Linked DNA regions of Homo sapiens: regions 1, 2, 3, 4 and 5 are each linked to region 6. Evidence: promoter capture Hi-C in 16 types of primary human blood cells and fetal thymus (Javierre and others, 2016). All regions are on one chromosome and are shown on one strand. Each heading gives the region's core, a stretch centred on a gene start or on the middle of the fragment in contact. The rest is flanking DNA. Distances are from core to core; before and after follow the strand shown. Region 1 overlaps TESPA1 (thymocyte expressed, positive selection associated 1). Region 2 has its middle 48 kb from the start of OR9K2. Region 3 has its middle 29 kb from the start of NEUROD4. Region 4 overlaps TESPA1 (thymocyte expressed, positive selection associated 1). Region 5 has its middle 22 kb from the start of OR9K2. Region 6 holds the start of DCD (dermcidin).

Evidence for each region. The method cuts DNA at HindIII sites, captures the fragments that hold promoters and counts their contacts. A CHiCAGO score of 5 or more calls a contact.
Region 1: a fragment that was not itself captured here is called in contact with the fragment with the promoter of DCD in region 6 in 1 of 17 cell types (neutrophils); the score reaches 5.1 in neutrophils.
Region 2: a contact is called between a fragment that was not itself captured here and the fragment with the promoter of DCD in region 6, in 10 of 17 cell types (naive CD4 T cells, activated CD4 T cells, naive CD8 T cells and 7 more). The highest score is 8.5, in naive CD4 T cells.
Region 3: a contact is called between a fragment that was not itself captured here and the fragment with the promoter of DCD in region 6, in 1 of 17 cell types (activated CD4 T cells). The highest score is 5.9, in activated CD4 T cells.
Region 4: a contact is called between a fragment that was not itself captured here and the fragment with the promoter of DCD in region 6, in 1 of 17 cell types (M1 macrophages). The highest score is 6.0, in M1 macrophages.
Region 5: a fragment that was not itself captured here is called in contact with the fragment with the promoter of DCD in region 6 in 5 of 17 cell types (total CD4 T cells, activated CD4 T cells, non-activated CD4 T cells and 2 more); the score reaches 6.4 in total CD4 T cells.

Annotation. Positions count from the first base shown.
Region 1 is chr12:54,952,847-54,956,905 of GRCh38, forward strand. The region is part of intron 10 of TESPA1 (thymocyte expressed, positive selection associated 1); the gene reads right to left. Among named protein-coding and RNA genes, the nearest start is that of TESPA1, 30 kb to the right of the region's middle. The HindIII fragment of the contact is 8,424 bases long and covers 1-4,059 here.
Region 2 is chr12:55,076,059-55,080,016 of GRCh38, forward strand. No RefSeq gene overlaps it. Among named protein-coding and RNA genes, the nearest start is that of OR9K2, 48 kb to the right of the region's middle. The HindIII fragment of the contact is 534 bases long and covers 1,340-1,873 here.
Region 3 is chr12:55,047,430-55,051,106 of GRCh38, forward strand. No RefSeq gene overlaps it. Among named protein-coding and RNA genes, the nearest start is that of NEUROD4, 29 kb to the left of the region's middle. The HindIII fragment of the contact is 526 bases long and covers 1,314-1,839 here.
Region 4 is chr12:54,972,509-54,976,343 of GRCh38, forward strand. TESPA1 (thymocyte expressed, positive selection associated 1) reads right to left here. Exons shown (of 11, transcript NM_001136030.3): 2 at 1,892-2,099; 3 at 969-1,011. The coding sequence starts at 2,054. Among named protein-coding and RNA genes, the nearest start is that of TESPA1, 10 kb to the right of the region's middle. RefSeq lists enhancers at 1,497-2,008, 2,009-2,518. The HindIII fragment of the contact is 511 bases long and covers 1,137-1,647 here.
Region 5 is chr12:55,102,884-55,106,696 of GRCh38, forward strand. No RefSeq gene overlaps it. Among named protein-coding and RNA genes, the nearest start is that of OR9K2, 22 kb to the right of the region's middle. The HindIII fragment of the contact is 1,978 bases long and covers 780-2,757 here.
Region 6 is chr12:54,645,788-54,649,701 of GRCh38, forward strand. It overlaps DCD (dermcidin), which reads right to left and starts at 2,578. Exons shown (of 5, transcript NM_053283.4): 1 at 2,459-2,578; 2 at 1,334-1,372. The coding sequence starts at 2,516. The HindIII fragment of the contact is 3,742 bases long and covers 753-3,914 here.

The sequences.
Region 1 (4,059 bases), core at 161-2,660, 310 kb after region 6:
CTTCATTCTTAATAAAATGATATTTACATCCATTTAGTTGCCCAAGAGGAAACCTGTATGCCCTATCTTTCTTTCTGTTCCTTATTCCATTTTTCTTCCCCAAACACAAGTCTAATCGGTCCTGGCTTAGATATTTTACCTCCTGAATATCTCAAAATCTCACTCGTCCTCCCCTCTATTCCCACTGCCTTCAGCTTGTTTCTGATCATCACATTTCTCCCTAGGTTTCTGCAGTAGATTCTTAAATTATTTTCCTTACTCTGCCGGCTTCCTACCCAGTCCATCTCCCATACTTCTACCAGAATAATCTTTCTAAAAGACAAATCTAATCACATCACTTCCTTTGTAAATTTTTCAGTGGATTCCTACCTTAGACTAAACCAAAACACTTAAAATAACATAGGAGACTCTGTTTTATAACTTCCTTTCTATTTATCTTTCTTATTTTCAGTTTTGATCTTTCTCCAGCACATCCCCTTTCTCCCACTAGGCATAAGGTGTAGTTTCCATAAGATATTGTGGTATTCCATTCATCTGTCTTTGAACTTACCTTTCTCTCTGCCTAGAATATCAATATTCTGCTTTTCCTTTTTCTACTCTCCTCAGCCACCTTCTCCCTGTTCAATGTTGGACACATCTGTCCAGACTTACCTTCTCTACATCTTTTTTTATTTACTTTTTTTTTTTTTGAGACGGAGTCTCGCTCTGTCGCCCACGCTAGAGTGCAGTGGCACGATCACAGCTCACTGCAAGCTCCGCCTCCCGGGTTCACGCCATTCTCCTGCCTCAAGCCTCCCGAGTAGCTGGGACTACAGGGACCCGCCACTACGCCTGGCTAATTTTTTTTGTATTTTTAGTAGAGACGGGGTTTCACCGTGTTAGCCAGGATGCTCTCAATCTCCTGACCTCGTGATCTGCCCGCCTCGGCCTCCCAAAGTGCTGGGATTACAGGCGTGAGCCACCGTGCCCGGCCTACCTTCTCTACATCTTTGCCAACACACATCGTTAAAAAAAGTAATGCCATCTTCTGAAAGGTTAATTTCTGGTCCCTATGGCATTTAATGAAAATTATTAATAATTACTGATTCTCTTGTCATGTTTTTCACTAAACTATGAGCTCAAAGCATCCTGTGAACATTTCTGCTTATTCTGTATAATGCTTCTCTTGCTGGTGACTTTATAAGAAGGCAAGTACATTTCAGTGGTGACAAAGGTAGTGAGAGTATTGGTACTTAGCATAAAGGGTCAAGGCACACAGTAAATGAAGCTCAGATCCAAGTACAGGTAGCGAGGCTTGCCCTGATCCACAGTAACAGCCTAAACTTCTGCTCAATCAGGGCCATATGCTCTGATGGAAACGGCCTTGGCTTGGATCTCAGGAGACCTGGGCCTTAGTTCTGGCTCTGACACTAACTAGTTGCATGATCTTGCTAAGTCCTTTTCTTGAGCCCATTCAAGTATAAAATGGATTTCAGGTAAATGAAATCACAAAATGCAAAACCACAGACAAAATAACACTTCTGTATCTTCTTTTCTCTTCCTCAGTCTTCCCTTTATCTATACTGTCTCATTCTTTCTTTGGCTGTGGAAGGCAGAAAGATAATCTTTATCTGCATTGCTTAATCCCCATTTTCTAAGTTGTAGTTCAAATGGATCACCAAGATTACTTCCAAGGCTGCCAAGGCACACAACATCAGGTGTCAACATTCACATAGAAAGCAATGTAAGAATTGCTTTTGAGGATGTGCAGAGAAGAGGAGGTCCTGGCTTCATCCACACCACTTTACACAGTCCTTCTGGTAGAAAGAGCCTCTAGTAATTATACTGTATAGCATTTTCAGAAATATTGTCTCATATAAGTCTTATATAGAGAGATGATGTCCACAGGATTATCCATGCCATCACATATTGCAAGGCTTCCTTTCTTTTAAAGGCTGAATAATATTTCACTGTATATATATGTCTCATTTTCTTTATCTATTCATCCACTGATGGACATTAAGTTTGTTTCCACATCTTAGTCATTGGGAATAGTGCTGCAGTGAAAATAGGAGTGCTAATATCTCTTCAAGATCCTGATTTCAATTCTTTTGGATAATTACCCAGAAATAGGATTGCTACATCATATGGTAGTTCCACTTTTTATTTTTTGAGGAAACTTAGTACTCTTTTCCATAGCCGTTGCACCATGTTACATTCTTACCAACAGTGTACAGAAGTTTCAGTTACTCTACATCCTTGCGAACACGTATCTTTCTTTTCACTAATAGCCATCCTAACAGGTTTAAGGTAATATTTCATTGTGATTTTGATTTGCATTTTCTTGATGATTAGTGATACTGAGAATCTTTTGATATACCTGTTGTGCACTTGTATGTCTTCTTTCAATAAATGATAATTCCAAAATATATGAGAAACTTCTTCAACTTAATAACAAAACAAACAAATAGATCATCCAATTAAAAAAATGGACAAAGGTTGACATCCATCCCTTTGAAATGTAATTATCAAGGAGGGTAGCACCTGTCTCTTCCAGTCTCAATGGGCAGGTGGGCATCTAACTTAAGCACTTTGTTTTAACTTGCAAAAACCACTTCCTGTCTTAAAAATATGAGGTTTATTTTTTTCTTTGCATAAAGCCAATTGACTGACACAGATGGCCACTCCAATTACCAGGTAAGTCTAGGGTGAACTGTGAGTGACAAATGATTCTGTTAAGTCTTCTTACTTGAGGACAAAGTATTGTTTATTTGACAACAGCCATGTAATGGGTTGTATCTGCCTGGCTATGTACAAGGGTAAGATTTCGTTCTGTGTTTGCAATCTGTTTAGTGGATGTTCTGTAATACATATCATAGTCTGCTTCAATGGTATTCAAAAATAAAACTTTCTTTCTTTTACACCTTTGTGGAGTGATTTCCTGGGGTGGGAGGAGATTTTGTTTTTAATTATATTTTCCCAACAGAGGCAAAACAACCTTGGTAAGAATTGTAAATGAGGTGGAAAAATATTCACAATTTCTTGATGTCCTCCCACTATCCCTCCCCCTTGTCTAATCTCTTCTTACACTTCACATCTGACTGTCCCTCTTCAGAATTTATTTTGATATAAAAATGTGTCCAGTATCATCATCTATAAAATGGGGAATAATGAAAGACCTTATGTCATAGGATGAAATGATTTAATATCCATAAGTGCTAAAGATACTGTCTGCTATGTAGTAATCCCTATATATATTGTTATTGGTAATATTATCACATAGGACAATCTTACATCAAAGAGAAGACTGTAGCTACCCAACTTACACAGGTTCCACCAAGTACAAACAGATAGTGCTTTGAGTTACCCACCATTTGGGGGTATCTCAAGCTAGTTTTCTTCTTTGTCTTGTGCTCTGAACGAGCATTCCCACCTAGTCCCTCCTGTCTCTTCTGCTGCCACCAGCAGGGGTGACCATAAAAATGAAAACTTCCACCTCTAGATATGGTCACTTCACAAAGAGAATAAATATTGACCTGTGCTACCTCAGATCTGGTAAAAGAAACAAAAAGAACGACAAAAAAATAAAAACTTTCTCCTTGGCTCTGCCGCTTATAAGTGTGATAAAGGTCAAGTGGTTTAAATGTCAACACAGGAAACCAATAGAAAGGGCTGTGAATTTGACATTTTTGAGCATGGTGGAAATTATGAGGAAAGATGTGGGTCATCCTTTCTCAGGAACTTGGAGGAAGATTAAAACCTCTTTCCCAGCAGAGACTAAATGAGAAGGTGGCAAGTGAAGAAAGCTGTTGGCTGCGGGTCAAGGTCCTCTTTTAATAGAAAAGGTGCCTGTTTGACTTCATTTCGTGTTGCCATGACAATACCACAGATAACGGCAATTTTTAAAGAAAAGAAATTTATTTCTTACAATTCTGGAGGCTGGCAAATCCAAGGTCAAAAGCCTGCATCTGGTGAGGGCCTCCTTGTAGCATCATCCCATGGCGGAAGATGGAGGGGGAAGACAGCGTGAGAGGGCAAGAAAGCAAGACACAGCCAAACTTGGTTTTATAACAAGCTCAC
Region 2 (3,958 bases), core at 357-2,856, 430 kb after region 6:
TTGAGGAATCACCACGCCATCTTCTCCAACGGTTGAACTAATTTACATTCCCACCAACAGTGTAAAAGCATTCTATTTCTCTGCATCCTTGCCAGCATCTGTTGTTTCTTGACATTTTATAATTGCCATTCTGACTGGAGTGAGATGGTGGCATCTCATTGTGGTTTTGATTTGCATTTCTCTAATGATCAGTGATGTTGAGTTTTTTTTTTCGTGTTTACTGACCACATGAAAGTCTTCTTTTGAGAAGTGTCTGTTCATGTCATTTGCCCACATTTAATGGTTTTTTTTAATGTAAATTTGTTTAAATTCCTTGTAGATTCTGGATATTGGACTTTTGTCAGATAGATAGATTACAAAAATTTTTTCCCACTCTATGGGTTGCCTCTTTTCTCTGATGATAGTTTCTTTTGCTGTGCAGAAGCTCCTTAGTTTAATTAGATCCCATCTGTCAATTTTTACTTTTGTTGCAATTGCTTTTGGCAATTTTGTCATGAAGTCTTTGCCCATGCCTATGCCCTAAATGGTATTGCTTAGATTTTCTTCTAGGGTTTTTATAGTTTTGGGTTTTACATTTAAGTCTTTAATCCATCTTGAGTTAATTTTTGTATAAGGTGTAAGGAAGGGATCCAGTTTCAATTTTCTGCATATGGTTAGCCAGTTTTCCCAGCACCATTTATTAAATAAGGAATCCTTTCCCCATTGTTTGTTTTTGTCAGGTTTGTTGAAGATCAGATGGTTGTGGATCTGTGTGCTCTTGTTTCTCTAGTTCTTTTAGTTGTGATGTTAGGTGTCAATTTGAGATCTTTCTAGCTTTCTGATGTGGGCATTTACTGCTATAAATTTCTCTCTTAACACTGCTTTAGTTGCATCCCAGAGATTCTGGTACGTTATTTCTTTGTTCTCATTGGTTTCAAAGAACTTCTTAATTTATTCCTCAATTTCATTATTTATGCAAGAATCATCAATTTCTAAGATAGTTTCTGAAATTTGCTATCATTCTTATTTTAAAAATGCAGATTAAATTGAGTTGAGACTCTTGATTTCATGTGTTACACACAGAGCATATAAATATTAGATGAAGCTAGTGTTTCAGGATGTGGAAATGGATTTTTATTGTAATATTCTATTCCAAAGGCAGTCCTAGCACATGCTAGATATCAGTGGAGAGAAATTGGTGATACTGTGGGGTTTCTAAGTGCTGAGGCAAAACTAAATAACGAATAGAAATTCTGAGTAGTTATTCTCACCAAGGGAACCATTGGGGAGAGAGACTCAGGAATTGGGGAGAATTTTTGAAGAACCTGCAAAAACTCATTAGTAAAATAGTCAATTTTCAAGCTTTTCCTAGCAAGAGAGCTATGACGGTATATCATAATAACAGTATCTTCAAATCTGAATTTCCCTATCCTCTTTCTTCATTTCTCCACTTCAATTATGAAAGGTTAGAGAGATGGGAGAGAAGAATTCCTATGCAAAGGAAGACTAAACTAAATCTTGCACCCACTCTTCTATTGCAGAGCTTGCTGCATGTGATGTGTTATAAACTTTAAAATAGGTGTTTACCCATCATCTCTGTGGATTTTACATTATGATATAACATCCACCTTGGTATCTGGTCTGTATTATCTCTATACTTGCAGCTTAAATATTTATTAAACTAGCTACATATACGAGTCCTATCTTTTAATCTACAGATCTATATTTATGTATAGAATATCATGGGTGAATCTGCCTCAGAGGGATCAAGTCTATAACTTTCATCAGCTCTTTAAATAACTCATACTTTTAATTGCTATACTATCAAATAAGTAGTTTCTTGCATAGTAAAAACTGCTTCTATTCAAAATCTAAAATCTGAATTATATGTGTAAGCTTATTTTCCAGAGATATTTGCTGTTAACATTAAATATATCTGCATATATCTTATAGTTATTTTTCTTAAAGCAAATGATACAGCATATTTAGATTTTAAATTTAATAGACACCTATTAATTAGTTGATACATTAGTTACATTATTTTATATTATTACTTTTCTATGTCTTTCAATTGGCTTTTTACTCCAGGCATGGTACAAATTACCTAATTTAAAGATAATTTTTAAAGCGCAATCAGAAACAACAAAGTTGACATTACAACCGATGCCCCAGAAATGCAAAAGATCCTCAAACACTATTAAGAACACCTCTATGCACACAAACTAGAAAATATAGAGGAAATAGATAAATTCCTGAAACACAATCTTTCAAGATTGAATCAGGAAGAAACTGAAACACTGAACACACAAATATTGAGTTCCAAAATCGAATCAGTAATGAAAAACCTAGTAACCAAAAAAAGCCCCAGACCAGATACAGTCATAGTCAAATTCTACCAGATGTACAAAGAAGAGCTGGTACCAATTCTACCAAAACTATTCCAAAAAATCAAGGAGGAGGAACTCCTCTCTGACTCATTCTATGAAGCCAGCATCATCCTGATACCAAAATCTGGCAAAAACACAGTGAAAAACAGAAACTAACAGGCCAATATCACTGATGAATATAGATGCAAAATTCCTCAACAGATTACTGGAAAACTGAATTTAACAGCATGTTAAAAAGCTAATTCACCATGAACGAGTGGGCTTCGTTGTCGGAATGCAAGTTTGGTTCAACATGTGCAAATCAATAAGTGTGATTCACCACATAAACAGAATTAAAACTGAAAACCGTATGATCATCACAGCTTTTGATAAAATCCAACATCCCTTCATGATAAGAACCCTCAAGATAGGAACTCTCAAGAAACTAGTCATTAAAGGAACATACCTCAAAATAATAAGAGTCATCTATGACAAACCCACAGCCATCATCCTACTGAATGGGCAAAAACTGGAAGGATTCTCCTTGAGAACTGGAACAAGACAAGGATGTCCACTCTCATCACTCCTATTCATCATGGTACTGGAAGTGCTACCCAAAGCAGTCAGGTGAAAAAAGAAATGCAAGGCATCCGAAAAGAAATAGAAGTCAAACTATATCTCTTCATAGATGATATGATCCTATATCTAGAAAAGCCCAGAGAATCTGCCAAAAGCCTCCTAGAACTGATAAACAACTTCAGTAAAGTTTCAGAATATAGAATCAGTGTACAAAAATCAGTAGCTTTTCTATACACCAATAATATTCAAGCTGAGAGCCAAATCCAGAATGCAATCTCATTTTTAGTAGCCACACACAAAACTAAAATACCTAGGAATACATCTAACCAAGGAAGTGAAAGATCTCTGCAAAGAGAACTAAAAAATACTGCTTAAAGAAATCATAGATGACACACACAAATAGAAAAATATTTCATGCTTATGAACAGAAAGAATCAATATTGGTAAAATAGCCATACTGCCCAAAGAAATCTACAGATTCAACACTATTCCTATCAGACTACTCATCTCATTTTTCACAGAACTAGAAAAAACCATTCTAAAATTTATATGGAACAAGAAAACAGCCTGGATAGCCAAAGCAATCCTGAATAAAAAGAACAAAGCTGGAGGCATCACATTACCTGACTTCAAACTATACTATAAGGCTACAGTAACCAAAACAGCATGGTATTAGTACAAAAACAGACATGTAAACCAATGGAACAGAATACAGAACACAGAAAAAAAGCTGCACACCTACAGACATCTGATCTTTGACAAAGTCAACAAAAACAAGCAATGGGGAAAAGACTCCTTATTCAATAAATGGTGCTAAGATAGCTGGCTAGCTGTATGTTGAGGAATGAAATTTTGCCCCTACCTTTCACCATATACAAAAATTAACTCAAGATGGATTGAAGTTTTAAATGTAAGATCTCAAACTATAAGAATCCTAGAAGAAAGCCTAGAAAACATCATTCTGGATGTCAGCATTGGGAAAGCATTTATGACTAAGTACTCAAAAGCGATTGCAACAAAATAAAACATGGACA
Region 3 (3,677 bases), core at 327-2,826, 400 kb after region 6:
TGCAGCCTGGCGACAGAGCGAGACTCAGTCTCAAAAAGAAAAAAAAGAAACACCTAGAAGCTATTCTGTTACCAGTTAACTGTATCATCTCATGATGGTTTTCAATCTTGATGAGCTACATTAAAAAAAACCCGGCTGGTCCTTTCAAAAAACCAGCTCCTGGATTCATTAATTTTTTGAAGGATTTTTTGTGCCTCTATTTCCTTCAGTTCTGCTCTGATTTTAGTTATTTCTTGCCTTCTGCTAGCTTTTGAATGTGTTTGCTCTTGCTTTTCTAGTTCTTTTAATTGTGATGTTAGGGTGTCAATTTTGGATCTTTCCTGCTTTCTCTTGTGGGCATTTAGTGCTATAAATTTCCCTCTACACACTGCTATAAAAAAAAAAAAAAAAACCCGGCTGGGCATGGTGGCTCACGCCTGTAATCCCAACACTTTGGGAGGCCAAGGAGGGCGGATCACGAGGTCAGGAGATCGAGACCATCCTGGCTAACACGGTGAAACCCCGTATCTACTAAAAATACAAAAAATTAGCTGAGTGTGGTGGCGGGCGCCTGTAGTCCCAGCTACTCTGGAGGCTGAGGCAGGAGAATGGCATGAACCCGGGAGGTGGAGCTTGCAATGAACCGAGATCAGGCCCCTGCACTTCAGCCTGGGCGACAGAGCGAGACTTAGTCTCAAAAAAAAAAAAAAACAAAAAAAAAAAAACCAGTAAATTTCATGAATTATACTCTAATATAAATGACTTCCAGATTTTACACTAATGAGTCTAGTCCTCAAAAGTTTATACATAATAAGTTGTGTTTAAATTCAGCCGATTGGTCTCTGACTCCTAGATCCTGAATTGAATCACTATAGGTGATTCTGGGATGGCACTGGGAGAGGAGAGAGGTGACTGCTTTCCCTGACCTGGGCAAATGGAGAGAGAATGGTAATCCTCACTTAATATCATGCCTTGATGCACTGCTCACTGGAAAATTTGCCACTGAGTCACTTTGAGGAACTTTCATAGAGTTTATTAGACACAACACAAATTACTCCTTATCCACGTTTGCCAGGGGGAAAAATACCCCAGAAACTTATGGGAATGAATTTTGCTAAGAAGGAGAAAAACAAGTTTCTTATGAAAGGCCTGCAGGATCCATTCCCCCCGTCAAAGCTGACATAAATCCTTTTCTCCCCCCTCACTGCTTTAACAAGAATGGACCTCGGCCTTCAGATAGATCCCAAAACTCTTGATTCAATAGGTGTGTGTGCATATGAGAATGGCTTTGTGTCTGCATGTATGTGTGTGTTTATTCTTTCAGCATATGCCAAAGCTTACTCTTTGTTTATATGTTTAGCCATGCCATTGACTGAATCTCATAGATTTTAGACACACAAAAATAATTACCAGTTTCCTGAAGCTAATGAACCATAATCCCCTCCCTGACCTAATTCTTTGTCTCTAATCCCCAATAATCAAAGTGCTTGATACATGCTAAGTCTTCATCAAATCTTTGTTGCTAGGATGATCAAAAAGATAGCTGACCTAGGTCTAAACACCATGTCCTCCACAATTCTACACAATATCAGGAAGGAAAGTGGGTGTAGGTGGTGAACCTGCTTTTCTTGGTGGTGTCATTCTTCCTCTTTATTTCTCTCTTTTAATTAGTTAAAAAAATCAGTGTGGGATTGACTGGAATTTGTGCATCCGCAGATGAAAGCAAGACTAGCAACATGAATACTTTGTATTTTTCACTCCGTATCACCTGAGGCAGCCTCCAGTGATTGAGAATAAGGGAAATGGGAATGACAACCGGGTAGGCAACCAATAATGCCTGCCAGAGTAACGTTTAATCAAAGCTTGCAATGACCTCAAAGTTTACAAGGTATTGTAAATTATTCATTTTTTTCTAGAGAATATTTTTTCTTACTTGGGAGTTGTCCTACACACAAATTTTAATGAACTGTGTTAATCTGATCCATCATTGTTTAAATTATTTAGACCTGTTATGAAAATAAAAAATCCTCAAACTTGTAGCTGTGTTTATTTTCTATGAAGTCTGGGCAAATAAAATAAAAAGTGGCTGTTGTGGACTTAAATCCCAATACATCTGAATTTGCAATAGCTGCACTGAGAAACACACTGAATAAGATAGAAAACAGGAACCGTTAGCTGCGTCATCCATTTTTCAACATTGTTACAGAATAAAGTCAAGCTCATTATGTACAGATTGCAGAATTTTTCTTCTACTGAAAAGCATGGTAACATTTTCTTATCTCAAAAGTTTCCTAAATATTATAAAGCAGCGATTCCCAACCTTTTTGGCACCAGGGACCAGTTTCGTGGAAGGTGAAAGACAATTTTTCCATGCGGGGTGGAGAGTGGGGGGTGAAGGTACTGGGGAAAGGCATTAGCTCCTCGTAGGGAGCGTGCAATCTGGATCCCTCGCATGCGCAGTTCACGATAGGGTTCGTGGTACTATGAGAAGCTAATGCGGCTGCTGATCTGACGGGTGGTGGAGCTGAGGCCATAAAGCTCAAGCGTCCACAGCTCACCTCCTGTTGCGCGGCCCAGTTCCTAACAGGCCAAGGATGGGGACTGGCCCACGGCCCAGGGGTTAGGGACCCATGTTATGAAGAGCAAGCACATCGCCAATCAGATTTTCATCTTTATTTGGCACTACTGTTTCGAGAGGCTTAAGTTTACTTAACCCAACTCAGTGCTCTCTGATAATCTTTTCTCCTTATGAGCTTCGAAGTTCACCTTCAAAATATTTATTTTCCTGTATTTTCCAGACTGCTTTCTGTACTGGGTCAGTCAGAAGTGGAATTCTGCCTTCTCTCTGCTACTTGTTAGAATAACTACATCTTCACCAAACAGCACCTAACTCTTCCTTTTTTATCTTCTTTCATAAACCTTGGCTTATAATCAGCCCCCTTTTTACTGGGCAATATTTATGGCCATAGTATTATTTTGTGTACAAGTTTGAATATAGGATCTTTATTCCGAACATCATATATGTCTTTTTAACTTGAGATTTTTTTAAAGGATCTTTATTGTCATATTGGTTCTTTGTAAACCTGGAGAAGTGGAATTGGATTTGTACCCTTATAGTGAAACCCTGGTTCTGATACACGATAGGTTTATAATCCTTATCGAATCATTAATCTTATTTGACTATCAGTCCAGGTTTATTATTTGCTTTTTCATTGGCACTATAATGATTTCAAGTTTTAAAGTTTTCTGTATAACTGTGTGGCCATCTGAGGACTAGAATATAATGTTATTTTAAATAATTCAAAAGAGAAATGTGTAATATAAAAAAGTTCTTTATAACCCATGCCCACTGCAGATAACTAGTATGTAGGGGTGTGTGTGTGTGTGTGTGTGTGTGTGTGTGCACGCTTAACTGAAAGGGAGGTAGACTATATATGATGGTCTGATATTTAATGGCACTTCGAATTTCTTCTCTGTTTGTAGTGATGGTTTCAATGTTCCTTTTTTTGAGGGAGGATGGATCATTTTGTCCTATGTGTACAAGTAGCCAATTTCTTCTCTTCCTCACTGTCAGAAATTATTTTTCCTTAACGTTTACTAGTTTACCTAGTTTAGGATTGCTGACTCAATCCTGGTTAGAGTATCTGGGCACTCTGACTCCATGGTCAGCTTGACTTGGTCTCTAGCATCCTTGGCCA
Region 4 (3,835 bases), core at 142-2,641, 330 kb after region 6:
CTGCAAACATGCTGATTACCACCATTCTTTTCTTCCTGTATTCTGTGGGTCCTCTAATTGACTTTGAAATCAATGAATTATGAATAAGATGAGGGCAATGAGAACAATAGGTTTTTTCAAACAACAAAACAAACACAAAATAAATCCTTCCTGGCATTGCCTTCTTGGGTACAGGTGAAATAAACAACCTTGGATTATTTGGTGTTATTTATTTCCTACCAAATAAGCAAGAATGGGTTTCTTTATGCCAATTAATAGATGAGTTTAGATTAAAGGCTATATAAAACTTGAGCCATTCCTGGAGGGAAAATAAGGAGCAGGCAGAAGTTGTCCATTCTGAGAATTCATTATTACACAGAAGACTAAATAGATCACAGAATTCTTCCTTTTGTGTCTGGGTATACTGAGCCTAAGAACGGTACAGGCTGATGGGCTGTGGGGTCTCATAATTTAAAGTATCTCTGAGGAAAGAGATAATGCACTGCCTTGAAGTGCCTGCTCCAATTCTCCCCTGCTTTGAATGACTGTCATAAACCCTAAGCTTCTCCTGTGCTCTGCAGTAGAAATAAATAACACAGATGAATTGCTCTTCAGCAAGAATGATCAGGTTTCCAATTCCTTTTGTTACACAATGTAAGACTCCAATCTAAAGGGGGAAGTCAGGGGAGTAGGGGTCTGGAACTCACCCCAACTATTCCCCATCCACTCTTAGCTTTAGCTCAAACCCAACCTCTATTCCTAGACCTCGTGCCTAATTTAGTCTTAGCCCCAAGTTGCACTTGATTCACAATTGTGATCACCAGTTCACCCTAAACCCGCAACACCCCTCCAACCACCATCTCAACCTTACTTCTAATCTTTAGGCCCAAATCAAATCCATCTTCCCGTCTCTGAGTTTCCAGGAGTTGTGTCTGTTAGCAAATTCAACCATCAGCCACATACCACCCCATTGCCTGTCCAGCACTTACCCGCAATCCTGCAGCCAGTCTTCAATTTTATTGATTGGATTCCCTAGAAAAGTCAGACACTAGATCACTGTGAGAACTGAACGAAATCAGACCTCCTCCCTGCAACTAATTCCATTCCACAAGTTTATTCTTACATAAGCTGCGTCATGAATCTTTTTTTCTACATAAAGCTTTTCTTTAAGATATGAGAGGAATACACCGTATATAAAAATAGTAGATATTTCTTCTCTCTCTCTGCTTCTTTTCTCCCTTCCTCCCAAGAACCTGGAAAGTGCCCAAGATGTCAGGCCCACTGCTGTCTTTTGAGAGTTCCTTTCCCACAAGGGTGGATCCTTCTCATTTAAAAAGAAAAAGAAAAAGAAAGACAATCTTGTTTTTGTGCTTTTTGCTTCCTACCAAATAAGCATTTATTTCCATCAGAATTTTTGTTTTACTCTTATGACTGTGGTCTCATCTGAACCTCAAAGAAGCTCTGAGAAGTGTAGGAAAGGTACTACTACTTCAATTGGACAAATAAGTCTTAGAGAGGTGAGTGACTTCCCAAAGGCCACACAGCTTGTTAGTGACAGCATTGTGGCCAGAGTCCAGGCATCCAGCTTGGGTGTGGTCTTGTTACACAGACAAAATAGAAACACCCCAAAGCATTCATAGAGAGCCCCCAGCCTCAGGTTCTTACAGAAGCTTCTCAGGATGATGCAAAAATGTGCCCTTCCCTTTTTCCTAATCTTATGCCTGTCTCTTTCTCACATAATTCATATTTCGTATTACTTTAGCTTTTCTCCTAAACATATTTAAACCAGTCAAAACAGTCCTCCCTGAGGGCCTGGCTAAACAAGGAACCTGTTCACACTCTGCAGACCTGGGCCTGCTGTCACCTTTTGCCGCCAGACAACATAGACGCCTGTCTGATGTTCGTCTCTTACCTTCTTGGAAAACGTCATCCAGGCTGGAAGGCTCAGGATCTGGGACATCCTGCAGGGCGGCGGCAGCCTCCTCTTCTAGGACCTGGGTCTGCCAGTTACGGCTCTGACGGAGCCAGGCCCGCCGTTTCTCCCAGGATGTGGGGCTCAGCACAGAGGCCTCCATGGCCCTGGCTCAGACTTCAGGGCCTCCCGTAACAGTAATGCCGTCCTAAGAGTTGAAAAACAGTGATACTCCCTCATCATATGCTCAGAAACCATCATGATGCTCAGGGTTGCCCCCTGAATTTTCCTGTGTCTGCCCAAAGGAGCTTGGTCTCTCTGACCATTCAAAAGCAGGGAGGACATGCCTAGCTCATTTTCTGTCTCTCCTGCAAAAAAGGAATGCTCTGAAAACTCTAAATACCGGGATAAGTCTTTCAAGCCAGAAAGTTTGAAAGCTTCAAACATCATGATTTAATGGACATTAAGAAAACTCTTCTGACTTAAAGAATCTCTATTTCTCAGGGTAATCGAAATGCTGTATTAGAAAACATTTTTTCTTTAATCCTTAAGAATGTTGTCTACCAGAATCTTCCATTATGACTAAAACATCTTTAAGTTTACAACTTATAAAATTCACTTCATTTTTTAATCCTCATCAAGACATATGAAAAAATTTAGGGTCTCAAAGGTAAAACAGATTTTCTAAGGTCCCACAACCAGGATGTCACTCCAACTATAGGAATTCTGGGTTTTGTTTGTTTAGTTTTTGTCTTGATTTTTTATGTTCCTGTTTTATATATTAGGAGTCCACATATGATTTCTCTCAGAAAAAAAAAAATACCCTGTGATTAAAAGCAGAGAGACACTGCCTTAAGCAATTAGCAGCCAGCACCTTCAGGATAATGACTTTCTAATTTGTCAACTTGTGCTTCTACCTAACTATGAATTTATTCCTCAGCTCATCAATGCAATTACTAATCCTGTCGATTCATATTTCATGTAACATTACCAAATATTGATGTATTTTTCCAAGAGACACAATGATGGCACTAGATACACATTCAAAGAGGAACAGAGGGGAAGAATCATTCAATTGTCCAAATAGAGCTTAAAAAAGCTTGAAGCTAATGTAATATTCATTGGCTCATACTCTGTCCTGCTGCCTCTCCCCAGCTGGCCACACTTGCATCCCACCACACTGAGCAAATAGGAGTGGGGCTGAAACTCTCCAGGTCTTATCCCCCTATTTCCTCGAGCTGCCATAAACAACATCATCTTAAGAGCTACACTTTTAACTATTGGAATAAAATAAAATAAAATAAAATAAAATAAAATAAGAAGACTACCAGTTTACAGAGACTTCTGTTCTTCCAACACTTAAAACCATTAGTGAGGCATCCAACAAAATAGGCATTAAAATAGCTTTTTTGAAAAGAACATCCTGAACATAAAATGCATTCCTAGGGCAGTAAAATTGTTTTTAGTGCCTCTGCTTGTTACAGGCAAAACATACCTAGGAAAAAATAATACATAATTACTGTTGTCTGATCTAACTTCCTTCACTTCAGGTCCAGTCCAAGACATATTTTTCTTCCAAGTGAGACGGTAGTTAGCACTATGAGACTTTGCTCTTTAACCCCGGGCACGTGGCTCTTTGTCTACTGCCTGTGCCTTTTAGAGAAAATTAAATCACTGAATGAAGTTAATGTCATAAAGAAGCCTCGAAGAGGAGTAGCAGAGATGACTTGCTATTCTTTGGTCAGAGCTGTCGTGAGGAGATAATGTCCATTAAATCGTGATGTTTGAAGCTTTCAAACTTACTGACTTGGAAGACTTACCCTGGTATTTAGAGCTTTCAGAGCATTTAATGCAACTGCCACTAGAATGACCTTAGGACAAGAATCTAAAAAGTCTTATCAGTTTGTTTACCTAGTCCTGTGATCCAAAATATTTAAGAGATTG
Region 5 (3,813 bases), core at 519-3,018, 460 kb after region 6:
GTATTCTAGTTTTCTAAGTTTTGAAAAATTTATTTATTTATATAAGCGTGAACTCATGGTTTTCTACTTTATTTAATGTGTTATAATACATTATTGACATTGTTTATTTTGATGCTCAGATTATCCCCAGTTTAGCCAGTGGGAGTTTCTTTGAGCTAGCTTCTGTGTTTTTTTGACTTATCTCCAACATTCTTTTAACACTTTATACTTTTTGACACAAAACAACAGAACAGATTTTTGTGTTCTTTGCCTATCTGATATGAAATTACGCATTTCTCCAAGGATCCCTGGTTCCTTTTAGTGGAGAAGTGTATTTAGAAATCAAGACATGGGTGATGTGTGTTCAATGTTACTGCTATTTAGGTGCTGGTAGGTCTCTTAGTTGGCAGACATACATATGTATATATGTATATGTACACATCCACATACATTCATATGTGCACTCATTCATGTATGCATACATACCATCATTTGCACCTACATTTCTATATCTATTACATATTGAAAATGATGAGTGATATGGTTTGGATTTCTGTCCCCACCCAAAGCTCATGTTGACTTGTAATCCCCCATGGTGGAGGCGGTACCTGATGGAAGGTGATTGTACCATGGGGGCAAACTTACTCCTTGCTGTTCTAGTGATAGTGAGTGAGTTCTCATAAGATCTGGTTGTTTAAAAATGTGTAGCACCTCCCGCCTTCTCTCTCTCTCTCCTGCTCCACCATGTGAAGATGTGCCTGCTTCCCCTTTACCTTCTGCCATGATTGAAAGTTTCCTGAAGCTTCCCCAGCCATGCTACCAGTACAGCCAGCAGAACCATGAGCCAATTAAACCTCTTTTATAAGTTACCCAGTCTCAGGTAGTTCTTTATAGCAGCATGAGAATGGACTATTACAGTGAATCTATTCTGACACTATAAATTCCAATCCAACAGTACAGAGTTTATTCTGGTTTCTCAATTTGCATATTGCAAACTCCCTCTCCAATACTCATTATGTTTAATATATTTACTTTTTGACTAATTCCGCTTTATATTTTCTCTATACTCTCATTACTGCTGTCTCTCTTTCCCCTACATGATTGTTCTTTTTATCCTAATCTGGCTTCTGCACCTGTTGCTGGGCTGCTGCTAGTATAAACCTGTGTAAATACCCTTTGCATCCTGACCACTATCCAACACTCTGCCTTGGGCCTTTCTGCTATATGGAAACCATCTACAACTCAACCATGCTCTGATATCCTATGCCAGGTCCCACCAATTGACTACTATGAATGCTTTCCTGATCCCACATTTACTCTGATACCATTATAAATATGGAGAATCTCATGGATTTCTTCTGTTATAATGTTACGGCAAAGATCTTTGTAAATGCTCTCTGGGAAAGTTTTTGTGGATGCTGTTTGGGAAAGAGACACCAAAAGAGTTTCATTATTCTGAATTTGTGGCTTGAATTTGGGAAGAGTTGATAGAAGAGACAAGATATGAACACTAACCATTAAAAATGGTTATAGTTTCAGGCTAGAGTGAAAATAAACAGAGAAGCAAAAACTGATAATTAGAAATTCTAGCTTATTCAGAATAGACAAAATTAAAAACTGTTTTCAATACATAGAAAAGTACACAATGTTAATAGTTCTCGAGTGAGATTATTTTGACACTATAAAGAGCGTCTGCACTCTGTGAACCAATTAACTTGTTTTAGGGTAGACTATGTACTCAAAAATCAGTTTGTCATGTTACCATCTGTGTAACATGTTGCATGAGAGGATTCAAAAGATTTTCCCCGGTATATAAATAAAACATGAGGCACCCAACAATGGCCAAAATTGTAAACATTTTATTGTTTTTTCTCATACTCATTTTTTGAAAGTCTACCTCCAAACCTTCTACAACATACTATAACAAAAAAGTTGTCTTTTATATTTTATAATGTGTTGACACAACCAGACAATTTTAAATTGGTGTTATTCCCTTTATTTTCTTCCATACACATGCTCCCATAGTCAGGCATGACTTTTCAGATATGCCGTAAAGTGTTAAATATGAAAATGATACTAATGCATCCCAAATCCTACATATTCTTTTCCACATATTAAATGATGGCCAGTTTATATTCTATGTAATAAAAGAAGTCCATGTATATATTAAACCTATATTTGAAGACTGAGCATTTTGTCATGCATGGATATGGTATTTAAATGTTTTTCCAAGTAGTGTAAGTAGAATTATTAAATTTTCATCATAATCAGCATTATAAGAAGTAAATATGTTTATAAGAGGAAATACTTGTTAAAAGTAACCAGATATTATACTTTGCTTCAGTTGAGCTTTTAATTGATTTAATTATAAATTCCCGCTTATTATATCATTTATGTGAAAGTGAGAACTTACTTATTATAAAATCTAGTAAAGGTAATTAAAGAAATTTAAGTTGATTAGGCTTTGTGTGAGAAAATGAACCTAAATCTTGTATAAATGAAATTATTATTTTCACATTATTTTTAAAACTGATAAGAGCAGGCAGAAGAAATAACATTGTTTCTAAGCCAAAATTGTCAGCTTACACAAGGTTTTTTTTTTACCACATTAATATATCAAATATAAATCCCATTTTTTTGAGAATACTGAAGTTTACTTCGTACTCTTCTCTAACAACTTGCACTACATTGCCACCTGTCGTGAAGCCTAATAACCAAAACCATTACAAATTTAGCTAAATTATTTTTCTCCTTAAGTAAGTTTTATCAAGTGTCGGAAGCTTATTTTAAGCAAGCCAACAAATGTAGAACATTTTGCATGAAGTATTTCTAGAAAATTTTACAGTTCTCTCATATTAAAAATGCTTTTCTAGTCTTTATAAGCTAATGAAGAACAGCTTCATTTGATAAACAGACTACTGTGTAGTTCTATAAGTGAAGATATATCAATATGTTTGCTGAGAAAGTATTTCTGACTCAAAACACACTTTATTCTTATCAAACTCTTAGGTAGATTAGCACATTCAGGAACAGTTTTTAGCTGACTAACTCTCAACATATTGTGTGTTGCTTTTTCTGTAGCACCTGTTGAGTGAGATTGAGGGTTCAGCTAGGGTCATAACTTTAAGCACCATTAAGTTCGTGTTGTCAGTACGTGAAGCACAGTTTTACATCTGAATTTTCCATCATTTGTATATTTCTATGGGCCTTTCTTATAGTATGAAAGAGGAGAAAGAGAAATCATGTACTCAGAAGCATCAGATTTTTCATAGTCATGAAACTCTTCTTCTCAAAAGTAATTTTCCCCATTCTTCATTCCATTCTTTCATTCATTTGTTCTATTTTGTACAGTTTGTTCAAATTATGAACACTTTTCTTAAAAGCCAGAGGCTTTGCCATACAAAACCAGTTTCAGAAGTTTTTGGGAAACATTTACACATTTTCTCCCCATAGATGGGAATGTGCCTGTTTGAAATAGATGTTATTACAGTGTGTGAAAATGGCTTTACAACCAATTAATTTCCAAATATTTCCTGACATAAGAGAGAATTTGCCACAGATACAGAAAAAGTACAAAAGATCTTTGTAAGAAATGAATTACTTCAGGATAGAAAAGGCATTTTTAAAATTTACATGCTCATTATGAGAACTAGAAGTCTCATTTTCCAGTGGCAGCTGTAAGTCAGAGTAAACTTAGCACAAAAGCTCCATAATAGTCACGGTTATTCCAGATCTCTAAGATCTTCCCTTTATTCCAGAGAGAAATGTATTGTTTTCTTTCTGATGATTTAGGCTCACAATGGCATACAAATAAAATGCATAGCTTAAAGGATG
Region 6 (3,914 bases), core at 1,328-3,827:
CCCTCAAGGTCTGGCTTGAGGATAGCTCCCTCTCTCCCAATTCCTCTAGAGCTTGACTTTCATGATGTGTTAGGTTCTTTAGCATCCCTCAAGCTTTTTCCTGCTGCCTCCAAGACTTTTCCTGCTCCTCCAGGGCCCTTTTCTAGAGTAGATTATGGTTCAGGGAAAAGTAAAGTCATTTTGGCAGAAAGATCACCTTAAAGAGACTCCCCCTAGTTTTCATCCCTTATACCAGCCCCCTAGTGTGGGGAGGTTTTGCAGAGGGCACTAGCTTCTCTCTTCTAGGCAGGTTGGTGGATGAGGACAGAAATTTGGCAGTCTCTGAAGGGGGCTTCTGTAGCTGTAAACAATCCATTTGTTTATCTGGAAAATCAAAACTTCTGTTATTGCATTGGTGTGAAACGCTCCAGGGGCATCTGAGAAGACACCAAGGTGCCCGGTGTTCCCTCTGGGCTTTATGTGAGAAGGCAGGGAGGGTGCAGGTGTGTGCTGTGGTTGGGGCTCGCAGTGCAGTGAAGATGTGCAGAAATACAGTTTATCTTTCTGCCGTTAATTATCCAGAGTGTGTACATGGCTGGGGAAGTAGAAATGAATGAGAATTAGATCTCTCTCTCAGGGGCTTACAGTCTAGGAAAAGAGACAAAACTGCTATATATGGGAAGCCCAGAAGAGGGAGGGATGAAAGGAGAGACTGGGACAGAGGCACCATACACACCAGGCAGGGAGGGCTTCAGAGAGCAGCTGGGACTTGAAGCTTGTTAGAGCACGGACAGGTAGGGGTTGAAAAGGTACCCAGGAAGAGGAACGTTGGGTAGTAGAAAGTTACTCATGCTGTCTGATGAAACAAATGTATAACGTTTGATGTGGAGAATGCAAGCAGTGGAGTCTAGGGAAATTATATTTGAAAAGTACCCTGGATCTAGATCATGGATACCCTGAATGTCAGGCTAGGAGGTGAGAGTTTCGTGATGAGAAATGGGAAACCACGTGAAAGGTTTTTGAATTGAAATTGTTGGTGAAGGTGGGGCAGATGAAAACCTCTGAACCCATCTAATGTGAAGTTCCTCCTCTTGCTCAAGAAAAGTATTCTTTTCTTTCCCATTTTTCTTACTCCACTTCTACTTCCAGACAGGGCCACCCTTTCCCCCATGCTCTGTCCTTCTCCAGTGCATGAGTCTCTCAGGAAGTCTCCCTTCTCCATGTCTCCTAAAAGTCGGCCTCCCAACTCTCCTTCCCCGGACCCCCCTTCTGCTTCTCTGACTTCCTCCACTCATATCCCAAGTCATTAACCCTCCCACCCAGGACTGGGGCAGGAGGAAGAGAAAGGACTCACGGTTCCCCGATCCTGGGGCAGAGGCGGCCTCTGGATCATCTGCAAAGGAGGGAACAGTGACCATGTCAAGTAGGGCACAGTTGCATGAGCTGTATCCAGCCAGGGCTGCCTAGAATTCCCAGGCCTCTAATCTCAGGAGTGTGGCAGTGGACAGACAGGAGAGAAATCTCTGCTTCACAAGGGGCCCACTAGAAATGCTTTTTGGTATCTCAACCAAATCCCTCTCTCTGTTATCCTCCCTAGACCTAGGCTACTCAGAACATCCCTATGGAAATGGAATCATTCTCTGACTCTCTTCTATGTCTTAGATGTCCAAGTTTCATAATGAAAGTTGAAGGGGCATGACCACGAGGGCATGACCACAGCACCTGCTCTAGTGACAGGGCAGGAGTTGTTCTGATTGTCACCTGATAGAATGACCTCAGAAGGACCTTCCCTCCATTTCTTTATTCTTCCAAAAGCATGAATGAAGCACGCATTATGCACCAGACATGGTGTTAGAGGCTAGAGATACAGCTGTGAGGAAGACAGACAGTGTAATTGCTCGGGGAAGCTGACAGTCAATGGGGGATTTGGAGGAATTAACATAATTACATAAACAATTATTTAATTACATTTGTGATAGTGCTAGGAAGGAAAAATACAGGAGGCAAGAAAATGCAAAATAGGGGCCAAAATGATTCTGGGGCTTCAGCAAGCCTGCTGTGAGGAAATACATGGACACAGAGAGCTAGCAGGGCGGACACTTGGAAATTGAGTAGGAAGGAGGTTGACGTGGGTGGGTGAAATAATGGGCAGGGGAAAAGACAAGAGGATGTGCAAAAGTCTTGGCAGTGGGAAATGGCTTGGTTCATTGAGGGGAAAAAGAATGCCAGAGTGGTTGGAGCAGAGTGGGCCAATCACAGACTGAGAGGAGAGGCAATGGAGAGCCAGGCTGGGGCCACAGGGCTCCTGGCTTCCTCTGACCATAGAGTCCCTGTGTGGAGAACCTAGTGGGAGGCAGGAGTGGGCTACAGAGACAGACTTGGGTGAACTGCCTCTGGCGAGGAGGGGAAGGGGAAATGAAGGCAGGGCCCAGTCTTCAGGGGACTATATGGTTGGGTGTCGGGGAAGAGCCATACTCACAGGCACAGACCAGGGCTCCTGCCAGAGCTGTCAGGAAGAGGAGAGTCATGAACCTCATGCTTCTGTGTGCTGGAGTGGGTATGCCACCAAATCCTTGGAGATCTTGGGATCTAGGGTGTCAAGACTGCCTCTCTGGGCCTTTTTTTAAGCATGACAGGGACCAATGGGAACCAGTCTTCCAGTGGTGTGTTCTCCTCCTCCTCTTCTCCCACCTCAGAGCCACCTGTTAAGTCAACAAAGGCTGGCTGGGGCTGGCTGGTGCCCGCCTTCCCTGCAGGTAGGTCCTGGACAGCAGCTCTGGAGTTGGCACTGTCCTGACTGGCATCCTTTTCCTGCCTCTCCCCTTCCCATCTCGCTTGTCCCTGGGCTCCCATCTCTGATTGCATCTGGGGTCCTGGGGAAGACTGTGAGAGGTTTCTGGAGAGGGCCCTGGCAGGAGGGCTGTGCCCAGAAGGCTCTCCTTCCACCTGGAAACAGAAGGGGGGCCCAAGATGTCAGATCCAGCCTCCTTAGGAGAGAGTGGGGGTGGCTGAGGCTTCCCTTGAGTGGGTTAAGCCCACCCTAGGGGGCTGCCCTCACAGCATTTGGGGATCCCACCTGACTAAGGTCCAGAGAGGCTGATGTCCTCTCTAGGGGTCTCCATGTGGTAACCAGAGCTTCCCAGCCTCAGTAGGCCCTGACCAGGGTGTCTTCAGTCCCAGCTAATGATCCTCTACCCCAGAAAATTCTCCTGGTAAGTTAACCAGAATATGAAGTCAGTTCCCAGTTTGCCCTTCATATAGGGGAGGGAGGCCAGTGGTGTGGATAATCCAGAGAAGTGGAGAATCCAAAGGTGCTTCTCTCTGCCTCAGAATCCCTTCCTGCGGACTTGTGTTTTCTTCGAAATGGCAGAAAGTCCTGGAGATGTGGGTTTATGACTCGATTTTGTTGTTTACTAGCTGTGTGGCCTTCAGAGAGGCAATTTACCTGCCCCACTTCAATTGTTTTTCTTTCTTCTTTTATTTTATGGTAATATTTAAGGTGTAACATGAAGTTTTGATATACATGTATTTAGTGAAATGGTTACTATAATCAAGCAAATGAACACATCCATGATTTTACATAATTAGCCTTTTGTGTGTGTGTCTCTCTGTATGTGTGTGTGTGTGTGTGTGTGTATGTGTAAGAGCACCCAAAATCTGCTCTTCCAGCAAAAATCCCAAATTCAATACAGTATTATTGACTCCAGCTCTTGTGTTCCACTTCAGCTGTTTTGCATTTGATGGTGAGAAATGATCATTTTAATCCTACAGGTTTCGTGTGAGGAATACATGTGTCAAAACTGGTCAGCTCCCTCCTCCATCTATTCCAGACCCAAGCTGGGGAGCTGAGGATAACTTGGAACCTTAGTTTCTGCTCCTCACAAAGCCAGTTACTTCCTTGAGATGTCTTCTCTCCACGGAGTGGAGCCTGCCCT